3 separate regions of the Homo sapiens genome follow, and regions 2 and 3 are each linked to region 1. Evidence: promoter capture Hi-C in 16 types of primary human blood cells and fetal thymus (Javierre and others, 2016). All regions are on one chromosome and are shown on one strand. Each heading gives the region's core, a stretch centred on a gene start or on the middle of the fragment in contact. The rest is flanking DNA. Distances are from core to core; before and after follow the strand shown.

Region 1 (4,449 bases), core at 1-2,500:
CTCCCGAGTAGCTGGGACTACAGGCGCCCGCCACTGCGCCCGGCTAATTTTTTGTATTTTTAGTAGAGAGGGGGTTTCACCGTGGTCTCGATCTCCTGACCTCGTGATCCGCCCGCCTCAGCCTCCCAAAGTGCTGGGATTACAGGCGTGAGCCACCGCGCCCGGCCAGTTCAATGGATTTTAAAAATTATTATTCTCTAGAAAAAAGACCACGAACTTTGGAGTGGACATCCTGAGACCTGCCTACGAAGACCATTAGGGTAAAGAAGTCACCCCTTCACCCCAGGACCAGGAAGCCTCCAGGATGGCATAAGCGACCAAACAGCTGGGAGCCAAGCACAGTGCAGGGGGCTTGGGGTCGGCGGCCGGAGGCTGGGGTGGGTAAGACCCGCAGGGAACTCCGGGGCTCGGGCGGCGGCTCATTCCCCGGGAAAGGGCTCGCGGTGGGGACCAGGGGCAGTAGCAGCCGCGGACCCCGCGCGCAGGGGATGTGCGGGGCATCCTCTTGGCCAGTTCCGACCTTCCCCGCCGGTGGCGATGCCCCGGACGCGTCGTCCTTTCCCAGACCTCCTCTTGGGGCCGAGGCTCCAGCCCCAGGGTCTGCGGGCGGGGCCGCGAACCTTGAAAGCCCCCGCCGCCAGCTCGCCCGCGGGACCCTGGCCCGGGGCGCCCTGTCCCGCGCCGCAGCGCAGACCCGCGACCGCGCAGGGCAGGCAGGGGGACGCCAGGTCCCTAAGCGCCCACTGCCCTGGGGCGCGGGCGCCGCCTGCGAGAGGCAGGGCAGGGCAGGAGCAGAGCAGGGACGAGGTCAGGGACACGGGCAGGGCAGGGCGGGCGTCCTCTGAACGGAGCCCGCGAGTCCCCGCCCGGGACGCTGCCCCCCGCCCGCTGCCACCGGGCGCCGGGGCAGGACCCAGCGGGGCAGGCGCGGCCGCAAGCCCCGAGCCCCAAGGCCGGCCGCGCAGCGCCGCGTCCCGCCCTCCCCGCTCCGCGGCCGGCCCGGGCGATGCGGACACAAAGGGGACGCGCGTCACTCTACCTGGGCCTGCTCGTCCGCGGTGCGCGGCTCTGACGCCTCCGCCCGGTACTGGCTGCGGGGTGCCGGGTGCCCGCAGTTTGCCGCCCGCGCCTCCCCGCGCCCGCGCAGCCCGCACGGCCCGCACTGCAATGCCAGCCCTGCCGCCTCCCGCCTGCCGAGAGCCCGCGCGGGGAGAAGCGGCTGCGCGGGCGGGGCGCGAGCGCGCACAGAGGCCGGGCACGCGGGAGGCTCGGCCCCGGCCCCGCCCCCGCGCCGAGCCGCACAGCGCCCCCTGCCGCCCGCCTGCGCCGGCCCGAGGCCCGGAGCCGCCCCGCAGGCCCCAGGACAGGCTCCGGCACGAGGAGGGGCTGCGGAGACCGCCCGTGCACGCTAACATGAAAATGCTATTCCTGCTTTAGTGGCCTCCAGAAGACACTCCCCTGATTCCTACACCGAGGGAACACACAGCAGCAAGCTAGGAAAGAAGGGGTGACCCAGCCCAACGCTGTAAACCAGGGCGCGAACCGGCGTTGAGCTGTGCAGCTGCGCCCTGGGCTCCAGTCCTGCTCTGCCGCAGACCCCACCGGAGCCAGCACCTGCCTCCCCGACCCTCGCTGGGGCGGCTGTGAGATGAGCCCAGAGCCTTCCTGAGCCAACCCTCGCAAGGAAAGTCTGTCTGTTCACCCCACTATCCTTGTCTTGAAGGATGAAGAAAAGAGGGCCCCCCGGGAGGTCCCAAAAGGTGGAATGGACATCTGGGATCCAAGCACAGCAATTTCTTTATTTTTCTTAAGGTATCCAGCTTGTTGGAATCTAAGATCTGCGAAGGTATTAATAGAATTCCTGCATCTTCTGCCACTCCCCATAGAAGCTTGAAGTTACACAAATGTTAAATTATACGTCAGATGTGCATATATGAACAAAACCTACGAGTGTGCATGAAATAACACCTTCTTAAATATATAGATTCTTTTTTCTGCAATATTAAATGGAAACCCCACTAGAACATCGTTTTTCCTTAATAGCATACCCTCCACACTGTGTGGTCTAAATTCAAGCTCTACCACCTACTAGCCATTAAGCAAGTTATTAAGGTCTTCGTGCTTCCATTTTCTTACGTGGAAAATGAGGTGGCAATAGTATGTATGAGTTCTTCGGAGGGATTAAACAAGTCAAATAGGCCAAGTGCCATGGCTTACACCTGTAAGCCCAGCACTTTGGGAGGCCAAGGCAGGAGGACTGCTTGAGCCCAGGAGGTCAAGGCTGAAGTGAGCTGTGTTTGCATCACTGCACTCCAGCCTGGGCAGCAGAGTGAGACTTTGTCTCTCAATAAATAAAGAAATAGTCAAATTAAATATAACTGGCAAACTAAAACAACTCCATAGTCCTTAGCTACAATTTGTCTCATTTCTCCAAAGAATTAAATCAGATGATTCTTAACTAACTCAAAGCTCTGCATAATTTGTCTTCTGCTACACATACATCTTTATAGTAAAATAAAATAAAGCTGTCCCCTCTGTATTGAGAAGTTATTCTGGTAAATATTTGACCTCTTCAAATATATGAACGAGCACTTGCCTTCTAATGCCTCAGTTTCAGATTCTTTTTAGAAATGTCATTATTCAAGAAAAATGCACAATGGGAAGAATCTTAACAACAGCACTTTGTTACTTCAGCCTCTCACTAGAGGATGAAAATCGTTCTGCATAAAGGCCTGGGCTTTATGAAAAATATATTCACACCTCCCGTGTCCGAGCTGGGATACCAAAGAAGTTCCTGGTTGAGTACTACTTATGAATGAAGGATTCAGGGGATGCACAGGTGGGTGACTGCAAATGCACAGACGTTGTGCTGTGTTCCCCACAATAAAGGGGTCTGTATTAAGATGCAGGCATTCTCATGGAACACAGACGTATAACACTCAAGCTGGGGGACTGCAAAGGAGCATCTGGGGCTGCAGGAAGAGAGTTAAGGTGCAAAAATGCCCTGACCCAACTGAGACTTGTAATTGCTCATGTGGTAATACATGTGACTTCATTCCCCTGCTCTGTCTTTGTGAATGCAACCATTGTTGGGGAGATAGTGAGAGGGGACACTGGCATTGAAAGTTTTGTTTGCAGCAGGCCTCAAAAGGCACTCAGATGCAGATTTCCCTGCAAAGACTTCCCGGCCTATCATGGAGTTCCCCATCCCTAGATCTCTGATCTCTGAGCTGGTGTAATACTTAGTCTTTGTCTGTGTTGATCATGGCATCTGCCACACTTAATGTTTGTGGCATTCACTTTCTGATGCTTAGATCTTACGATTCTAGAGAACAGCATTTTTCTACATATTCCCTCTTAGGGCCTTGAACATAATAAGTGCTCAATAAATACTGAGTGAAATCCTCTACTCTGAGCTTTGCCTCTGAGCAGCTGTCCTAGTTCTCTCCAACAAGAAGTTTGTTGGGTCTCTCAAGTTCACTTCCACCTGTCACTGTCAGTTTTCAGTCCAGCCCCTTACTCAGGTCTGGCTGGCCCATCTCCCCCAGAGGGCTGTCCCATAGAGCCCATTGTAAAGGACACTCATTGTTGCCAAGAGTTTGTGCCAATGCAGTATGACTCACCCTTCACTCATTGAACAAGCTCTTCCTGATTACCTAGATGGGCAAAATTTCCCTGCTCATGCGAAGCAGGCTGGCGACTCAGTGCTGCAGCAAATGGCCCAGAAGCTGGGAAAGCAGATAGCCGTTCTGACACTTCTCTTCTAGACAGAAAATCAAGGGAAGCTCAAGACCCACACTTGAATTTTTTTTAAAAAATTAGACAAGGGGCTGGGTGTGGTGGCTCATGCCTGTAATCCCAGCACTTTGGGAGGCCGAGGCAGGCAGATCACCTGAGGTTGGGAGTTCAAGACCAGCCTGACCAACATGGAGAAACCCCTGTCTCTGTTAAAAATACAAAATTAGCCAGGCGTGGTGGCACATGCCTATAATCCCAGCTACTCGGGAGGCTAAGGCAGGAGAATCGCTTGAACCCCAGAGGCAGAGGTTGCGGTGAGCCGAGATCGCACCACTGCACTGCAGCCTGGCAACAAGAGCGAAACTCAGTCTCAAAAAAAAAAAAAAAGAAAGAAAAAGAAAAAGAAAAGAAAAAAAATTAGACAAGGAAGTTTATGTGAATTTGTAATCACACATTCCATAAATATAGAAAATTCACTTTTTTTATTTTAAAAATTAACAAATTCCATTTCTTGTTTCTCTAGAGTAGCAGGAAATCAAATGTCAGTTCTCATTCTGACTTTCTCTCCTTAAGGACACAGAGGAATCTGGGGGATATTATGGTTCTGGGAATGTGGAATGTAACGTCTCATCTTCAGCCCATCTGTGCTACTGATCATCTCATTCCAGAAGCCATGCCTTCTCTCAGGAGCAGACAGCACAAGACTTTCCT
Region 2 (4,449 bases), core at 514-3,013, 1.6 Mb before region 1:
AACGGAGATGAAAAAGACAGCTTCCCAGGAGACCTCCAGTTTTGGCGATGTCAGGTTGAATGGCTGAGGGGCCTTGTGACCTCCTGAGTTCCCATCACGTCCAAGACCGGCAGGAGTCGCCTGCAGAACTTCACTGCCGTACTTCTCTCCAGAGGGTGTGATGTAGCCATCAGACCCTAGCCAAAGGGGCTGCTTTGCTCTTGTCTGTTTAAAAATTATGCTTTTAATAATCTCTCCCAAGAGTGTGACAGGCAAACAGGCCTGGAAGCAGTGATGATTTCAAATCCTGCCAAATGACCGATTCTGGGAAGTAGGGGTCAGGATGTGTGGGGGCTGGTGTTGCTGTGTGGAGCCTACCAGGAGGCCAAGAGGCCAAGAGGAGATGGGAGAAGGACCCTGAGACACATGGGCTGTGCTTCTTTCAGGAAAACCCAGGGTTGATGACAATGATCAGCAAACACGAGGGGAGGGAGGGGAAGCCTGGTGCCCAGGGCCCCAAGACATAGCTGGAGTCTGGCCTGGGCCCCATTTGGGAAAACTCAGAGGGTTGGAGGAGGTGTCTGGGGAAGAGTCAAGGGTGGGAGATGACTGAAGTCGGGGAGGCCCTGCCTGGAAAGGAGAAAGCTGCCTGCTTTGTTTCTACACTTGAAAAAATGCCAGCCAAGTTAGCCTCACAAACACTGTGGGCACAGACGGAAGAAAACAAGATATTAGGTATCTGGAGCTGGATTTTTCCGATGACCGGGTGCTTACTAATCTAATCTTCCCAGGCAGAGTGACGAGCTTGCAGATTGCAGAGAGTGATAGATGTTACCTATCTTGAGTTCAGTTGGGCCGTTGCTCTTCGCTGCGTGACAAACCTCCCCCACCCCCAAACCAGGAGCTAAAGGGAACATTAGTCCTGTTCTCTGGATGACAAGGCGGAGGACCTGGGCCTCCACGGGCCATCACATATAGCAGGGGCTCAGAGTGATGTCTTGGGGGCCCAGGCCTGTGTGATGGTGTCATGATCTCCAGGAATGGAGAACAGATGATGTGTGATGTTTTGCAGAGGACATCCAATGTGGGTGGGAAGGGGTCTGCCCAGGGAGGAAGGATCTGGACTCACGGGGCTGAGGTGAGGGGGGTCAAGTGCCCTGCAGGGCCAGAGGCACTGGCCGGAGGGGCTTGCCCAGGTCCTGGCTGGTTTGGGCCTGTTCGTCTCATACCTTCCCCAGGCCTGGCACTGGGCTAGGATGTGGATCTTATTCTGTCTCTCCGAGGCAGCAGTGGGGCGGGTACTGCTGGGTGAGCCCAAGCCCGGGGCTGCCGCCGACTTCAACACTGAGCTCTCAGCCTCCCACGTGCCTCCCGCCCCCTGGGCCGCTTCCCCCAGAGATGAGTAAAGGACTGAAAAATTAGAACCAGGAGGGAAGTTTGGGGGAAGGTGAGGCTGCAGGCTGGTGGTGAAGTCTGCAAGCACAGGAGGATTACGGCTTTTTACACGAAGGGTGTTGGGTGGGTGGTTCTCTCTCCTCTGCTCTGGACAGAACACAGGAAGCTGGCTTGGATGGCAGCACCGAGCCTTCGAGCTGGGGTAGGGAAGAGATCTTGCCAGCAAGGGGCAGATATGCAAATGAGTTACTAGTAAACCTCCGTGTGTGGAAGTCTCAGAGATGGGCTGGTGATGCCTGGTAGCCGTGACCACCTGCAGCAGAGTTCCAGGATTTCTGCAGGGACCACTGTGGGAGCCCCCCGGGCTGCGTGAGAATCCCCACCAGTCACTGAGTCAGTCCAAACCTTGGTGTCCCTATCTGTGTATTGACACAAACGTTTCTGCTCATGAGACTGCTGTGAGGATTGGAGAGATACTGTGTGTTTTCAGATCGAAAGTACCACACACGTGCGACCCTCAATGCACACACGTGCACACGCATGGACCCTGGCAGATGCGCTGGGTCCAGATGAATCATGGAATGTGCTGGGGTGTGCTCTGCTCCCCTCCTCAGCCCCCTTCCTCTCCCTGGACTTTCTCGAGTCAGAGCAGAGATCCTCTGGGGCTGAGTTCAGTTGCATGGAGCCAGGGGAGCCACAAGGGCCTGGCGCTCTACGCCTCCCTCCTGGGCTTTCTCCCCCAGGCCTGGGAGCGGAGGAGACATGGAAGCAGCTGGGTGGATCCAGCCAGAGGTGAGAGTATAACCAGCAAAGCAGCATTTGCAGGCTGAGATCTCCTCCCCCTGCTGCAACTTACTGGGAGCGGGGCCTGTTGCACAACCAGGCCTGCCTGGACGTTCACCAGGAGCTTACCCAGAGGGTGGCTGGGGGCCCAGGACCTTTCTGGCTGCAGTGGCTCCAGGCCTGGGCCACCCCTCACCCGCTCAGCCTGGACCTAGGCCCTGCTGGCTTGGCCCCATCTCGGGACTGGCCTGGGCTGGGGTGGGGCTGTCCTCTGGCTCCTGTCTTTGCTGACCCTGCAGGCCAGCCCTTGCAGCTGTAAGGGGTTAATTAACAGTCACGCCGGGCAGAAGGGTGGTAACCAAAGGGGAAAAAGTGGGGAAGTGACAAAAGTTGAAGAAATCTCACAGGGCCCTCACAGCTGGGGGCTCTAGTTCCTGATTCTCTTGCTGAGACGGTGCCTGACGGCAGCCCTTGGCCTCTGCCTCCCCTTCCACCCCCGCCAGTGAGGGTGCAGGTTCCCCTCCCGACACATCCCCCCAAGCACCCCTGACTCAGCTCCTTCCACAGCCTGCAGATCCCGCAGCGGGTGGCTGTGGGGCTGGGAGTCTGGTCAGGGGTCAATTGCATTTCCTCGCTGGTCTGCCCTGGATGCTTCCTACTCAGAGGCCGAACATCTGAGTCTCAGGGAGGTCAAGTGACCAGCGGTGTGCCTGAGCTCATGGCCAGTGGTGTGGCTGGGATCCAACCCCCGCCTGCAGTGGGGCTATGCCGCCGAGTTCCTTACTCCTGAACTCTGCAGAGGGGTCTGGGGAATGGGCGAGAGGGTCCACAGCCAGGAAGGCTGTCATGCACGCAGTGGAGCTTTAGTGCGCCCTGTCCTGTCCGGGGTGGGAACCGGTGAAGGACTTAACCTGACAAGGGACAGAAGTGCCTCCCCACGAGAACTCGTCCCTTTGAGCAGCCACTCATGGACCCAACAGGATAGGAAGCACCTGCAGCCCTCTCTGCAGGGAAGAAGCCCTGACTCTGGGGAAGAAGGCCTCCCTTGGGTCTTCTCTTGGGTCCTCTTGCTGAGATTTGGACCCAGGGCTCATGCCCATTAGCCTGGGAGTGTCTCTCCTGGTCCTCCTGCGTGTCCTGTCCTGACAGAGCGGACATGCATTTCTCCAGTGTGACCACATCGGGGCTGAGTTTAAAAAGCCAAGTCCCATTTCTAGCTGGTAGTGTTGAGAAGGAAGCCACATGGGGTGGTGAGGAGGTGGGTGGAAGAGGGGGGCCTGGCTCCTGTGGGAGGACTGCTGTCCCACTGTCCACCTCCCCTCCAGGTCAGCCCTGGGTCTCCCTCCTCATCCTCCTGAGCATTCTCTCCATGAATAAGGGAGGTGATTCCAAGAGGCCCGTAGCGGGTCCTGGGGCAGAGGCTTCGAGTTTAATTTTATCGTGAATACATTTGGTATCGTAATGAGAAAGCACAGTAATAATGATGATGGTAACAAAGTCATTCATTCAACATCGACTGCATGCCACAGCACACCCTAAGCTTGGACGCTCTGATATAATCCTTCCCACAAATTTAACATCCCTAGTACTGATGAAGACGTTGGGATACAGAGAAACGTGCTGAGTTTCCACGGCTGGAGAAAGGCAGAGCTGGATTTAAACCTGGGGCCTGGAGCCCCATGCTCGCCCTTTCTCTATGTGGCTCCTTAAACCTGTAGGTGATCGGCTCCATCCTTCAAGACCACACTTGGGGTTTGTCAAGGGTAAAGTAGGTTTATCATCTTAAAGCTCTGCTTTGTGCTAAGGCTAGAAAAAAACCCGATTGCTCACCTCAGAGCTTACAGGTGAAGAAATCACCATTTGCCTATTCACGCGGGGCCAGGGAGATGGTGGAGACACCCACAGTTGAGGGGCTGTGAAAAGAGAGGCTAACTCTAGCTCAGTAAGTTTTTAGCCAAGTGACCTTGGGCAAAGTCCCTAATCTCCCAGAGCTCCAGTTTCTTCACCTGTAAAATAGGTGTGATAATAGCTTCTGGCAGGATTTATGAGTTTACATGGCTGCCACAGCATGGTACCCTGAACTGAGTGACGTCAACGACAGAAACGTATTGTTCTGCAGACCCAGAGTCCAAGATCAAGGTGCAGGCAGGGTCGGTTCCTTTTGGTCCTGGGAGGGAGACTGTTCCAGGTCTGCCCCAGCTCCTGGTGTTTTGCTGGCTGTCTCTTCCTGATTTCTGCCCATGTGGCTGTGCTCCTGGGGGATAAGACAGAGTGTCACAAAGTGGCCTGTGC
Region 3 (4,449 bases), core at 499-2,998, 1.6 Mb before region 1:
CATGTAAGATGTGCATTGCTTTCCCTTCACCTTCCACCACGATTGTAAGTTTCCTGAGGCCTCCCTAGCCATGTGGGACTGTGAGTCAATTACACCTCTTTCCTTTACAAATTACCCAGTCTTGGCTATTTCTTTACAGCAGTGTAAAAATGGACTAATACACCATGTCTGGAGCCTGGTGCCCCAGACAGCCACCATCCCCCATACTCTGGGGCCCTAAAGTGAGATGCCCTGACTGCTTCCAAGGCTCTGACTTTGTCTCAGGACTGTGCCTTATTTCCTGGACTAGTCCAGTGTCCTAGGGGGTAGTGGACAGCAGAAAGAAGACTCAGTCTGCACTGGCGCCCCAGCTCCACTACATAAATGACCTGGGAGGCAGGTCTCCTCACCTGTAAAATGGGGATAATAATACCACCCACAGGATTATAAGCGAGATGACATATGAAAAGAGCTTGGTGTTGTACCATATATATAGTAAATGCCCTGTCATTGGTGTGTGTGCATACCTTGTGTATGCATGTGTTGTGTGTGTCTCTCTGTGCGCTTTCCCATCTGATAAATGTCATCCAAAGTCATTTTCAGCACTCACTTCTTAGAGCTTTGGATTAATTTATGTGTAGTATTCCTACTGGACCTATGCCGGGTAGAGTACATGGGAGTTTCTTGGTTCTGAGGAAGAGGAGGGAGTCAACAGCTCCATGTGGACACAGTTGCTCTTGCTCTCCTCTCTTCACAGCAGAAGTGGGGGATGACTGCTGGCCAGCCCTGAGGACTCTCCCTCTCCACTCTCCTCACAGTCATGAGGCTGGACCATAGCTGCCTTCAGCGACCCCGATGTCCAGGTGCACCTGCTGAGTGGAAAAGTCAATAAACAGTTGCAAATACAAATTGACTCAATGAGGGAATGATAAACTTGAGAGGAGGCTAACATTAGCATCATCCTCACCATCACCATCATCACCGTCACTATCACTATCACTGTCACCATCATCATCACCATCACCATCATTATCACCATCACCATCATCATCACAACATAATGAACAGCTGGGTGTTCACCTGGAAGCTCAGAGCCTGGTGTGGCCTGGGCCCTCCCTTTGCAGCTGGTTCCCTCCTTCTGGACTTTTAAGTGCCTGGAAACTGCCAGGTTTGCACTGGACTGTACCCCTTTCGGGAAACCACTGCTGTCACTGTTAGGTGACCTGGCTGGAAAGGAGGATGTCTGGGTGACAGGGCTTGTGGGCCATCCTGGCTATAGGAGTACGTACCATTGCAGAATCATCCCACACTGGCACCATCAGGGCCATGCAGGCAAGAACAACATAGCATGAGGCCAAATGCAAATTGTTTTAAAACACACAAATGAGCTTGGTTCAGGTGGTGCCAAAGAATTCTCTATTTCAGCAGAGAGATATTTTGTGCACTTTTACTACTATCATCCAATAAAAATGCAACTGTTCATGGAGTCATTAAGCTGTACTTTTAGGAGATGCTGTCAAGGAAAACGGGCCACAAATTTAATCTGATTTGCTAAACTGATTTTAGTTACTCCTGTCAAAGCCACATCAAACCTTCAAATCTGTGTGCTTTCTTTTGCATCATGAAATTGTTACCCTGAACACTTAGAATCAATTTGATTTGGGGATACCTTTAGTCACTCAAAGTGCCTATGTGCACTCAGGCATGTGATGTGGTTCCTGACCACAAGGAGCTATGGGGAAAGATGACGTAAGATAGAATGTGAATGGGAAAACAGGTAGCATGGGCTGGAGGTACATGGTGGGTCAGGAAGGGAGGAGATGGTGCTGGCTGCCATATGACAAGCACCTCCTCTGTCCAGGCCTGAATTGAGTGTTTAACCGTGCAGCCACACAGAACCCACGCCGAGAAGGGTCCTACACTGATGTAATGCTCTGCTGCCTCTGTTTGGAAATTCTTAGTAATTATGAACATGGCACTCTGCATTTTCATTTTTGCACCAAAGCTGTTTCCTTTTCTTTCTGCACACACAGCCAGACCATATCTTCCAGCCTCCCCTGCGGTCAGGCATGGCCATGTGGCTGAGTCTGATGGATGGAGGGTGAAAGCCATCTGCATGCCCAGCCCAGAAGCGTCTCTGTGCAGGAGTCTTTAAAACACATGAGCTTGGTTCAGGTGGTGCAAAGAATTCTCGATTTCAGCAGGGCGGTATGTTGTGCACTTTTACTGCTGTCATCCAACAACAATGCAACTGTTCCTGGGGTCACTAAGTTGTCCTTCTAGGAGATGCTGCCAAGGACAGCAGACCAGGCTCTTTCCCCCTTTGGTTAATTGGGGTCTGACCATCAGGGCAACTGTGGAAGCCAGGTTTTGAAGATGGTACAGCCTGTGCTTGAGTCTCAATAACTGCATGGAGCAGAGCTCCCTGTGCCCACTGCTCCCTTGTCCCAGCCACTTGGAACTGCCCTGGACTCTCACACGAGCATAACAGGCATCTCTGTGTTGAGTGACCGCAGCTTCAGATCTGTGGTGCCTGCAGCCTGGCCCGTGTGAATGCCTCATTTTCAGAGGAAGGAGCTTCCTCAGAAGTTTCCCAGCGGACTTCCTCTCTCAGCTTGTTAGCCAGAATTATGCCTTATGTTTTTTCCCAAACCTGTCTCATCAAGGAGAAGGGAATTGCTACGATCAGCTTGGATGAATGAGGACTTACTCCCTAGGGCCAGGGAGGGCCCTGGTCACCCCAAGCCCAGGGCTGTCCACACCTGAGCAAAACTGGGCTTTGAATCACCGGGTCTGGCAGGGACTTGTCACTGAGTAGGCAGCCAAATAGTGTCTGGGGAGGAAGAAACACTTTAAAAAAAATTTTAAAATTTTAAAAAATTTAAACCATATTAAATGACAATGACCATATTAATTTTTTGAGGAACAATAAAATATTCCCTGTAATTTCTTGTACATTGGGGAGTGAAAAAATTATACATGTTGCATAGGTGGAGAGAAACTTTCCTGGAACTGTGAGGTTTATATAGAATTAAGAATGCCACGTGTAGGTCTTCAACCATAACTACTAGTTTTCCCACCTCTTATATGGACGCAATACATTCAAAGGAGAAGAACACACAGAGTTCCCTGGGAATTGTGATTAAAATGTGCTTAAATATCAGGCAGAGAGTGATGTGGGAAGTGGTTGATGTTGATGTTGAGTTTCTTTGGAACAGTCTACATTTTTGGACAAACGATTTTCCCGCTTTATATTTGGTTTGTATATGTCAAAGGCTGCAAGTAACAGCATATCTGACTGCTTGACTCTATGGCTTTTAAGTAATGAGGAGTTTATTTTTCCTCATGTAACAGGAAGACTGGAGGTCAGTGGTTACTGGTGCTGGTTCATAAACTCGGTGATATTAGCACTAACCTTCTGCAGTTTTCTTAGAATTCTTCTCTTGTTTGCAATATGGCTGTTGGAGCTGCAGTGGTCACGTCTGGGGCAGAATGAAGATGTTTGGGGCAGGAGAGACATTTTGAACCTCATCTGTCTCATTTTACCAAGAATCCAAAGTTTTCTAGACACTGGCCCCAAAGCAGTCTCTGGCCTTGGTGTCATGTCAGAACTGAGTGACAGCCCACCCCTAACTTCAGGGCAGGCTGGGCAGTGAGGAGTGAAATTATCAAGACTGGCTTAGACAGAGGATCAGGACCCATCGCCTGGGGCTGCTGGACCCATGGCTTTTCTGAACCCAAATGGGCTTCTTCCAGTAAGATACGACAGAGGAGTGGACACTGAGTAAGCAACAAAGAGTGTATATCACGAGCTGCCAAGGGGCTGAGGGGAGAGGAATGGTTTACATAAATAAGGCAGGTGGGATTTTTGAACCTCTCCTGGAAGTTTAAGGAGGGAGGTTTGGGGCCTGGAATACTTTTGATAAAAATAAAGCCAGAGCAAAGTGAAAACCACAGCAGAGCTCCCATCTGAGCTGGTGCTGGTGTCCAGAGCTGAATCCCACAGTCTCTGCTGCCAGCCTGTGTTCTACTGCTGAGCCAGGTCCTCTAACGTGATAGGGTTGTCATTGAGTCTCTCCAGAACAGGCTGGCGAGCGTGGTAGATTATCTCTCCAGTCAACTAGACCACTGATAAGAGGGCTCGACTTCCCTGTCGGAGCTCGTAAGGCAGGCGTGGCATTTCCCTTGCTTTCCTCTGGCCTCCCTTCATGCTTCCTTTGCTTTCCTTGCCTGCCTGGGCCATGGGGACAGCTCTGTTCACGTCTCCTCCTCTCCAGACATGTGCCTCTAGCGCAGTGCAATCCGATAAAAATGGAACGTGAGCCACGTAGGTCACTTCAAACTATCTAGCAGCCACGTTTTAAAAAGGAAAAGAAATGCATGGAAATAAAAATGATTTTAGTTAATCCATATATTAAAATATAATTTTAACATAGATTCAATAAGATTCAATAGAAACATGATTAAGAT

What was found. Contacts are between HindIII fragments. The CHiCAGO score rates a contact against its expected background, and 5 or more counts as called.
Region 2: a fragment that was not itself captured here is called in contact with the fragment with the promoter of RNF144A in region 1 in 2 of 17 cell types (erythroblasts and neutrophils); the score reaches 8.5 in erythroblasts.
Region 3: a contact is called between a fragment that was not itself captured here and the fragment with the promoter of RNF144A in region 1, in 4 of 17 cell types (total B cells, erythroblasts, activated CD4 T cells and 1 more). The highest score is 6.8, in total B cells.

Annotation. Positions count from the first base shown.
Region 1 is chr2:6,914,213-6,918,661 of GRCh38, reverse strand. RNF144A (ring finger protein 144A) reads right to left here and starts at 1,250. Exons shown (of 9, transcript NM_014746.6): 1 at 1,040-1,250. GRASLND (glycosaminoglycan regulatory associated long non-coding RNA) reads left to right here. Exons shown (of 5, transcript NR_033997.1): 1 at 1-260; 2 at 1,438-1,812; 3 at 2,695-2,839; 4 at 4,312-4,449. RefSeq lists a silencer at 921-1,410. The HindIII fragment of the contact is 2,406 bases long and covers 1-1,891 here.
Region 2 is chr2:8,533,104-8,537,552 of GRCh38, reverse strand. No RefSeq gene overlaps it. Among named protein-coding and RNA genes, the nearest start is that of LINC01814, 48 kb to the left of the region's middle. RefSeq lists cis regulatory regions at 1-1,877, 1,900-2,902. The HindIII fragment of the contact is 3,873 bases long and covers 1-3,699 here.
Region 3 is chr2:8,479,161-8,483,609 of GRCh38, reverse strand. No RefSeq gene overlaps it. Among named protein-coding and RNA genes, the nearest start is that of LINC01814, 100 kb to the left of the region's middle. RefSeq lists an enhancer at 2,004-2,103. The HindIII fragment of the contact is 7,766 bases long and covers 1-4,449 here.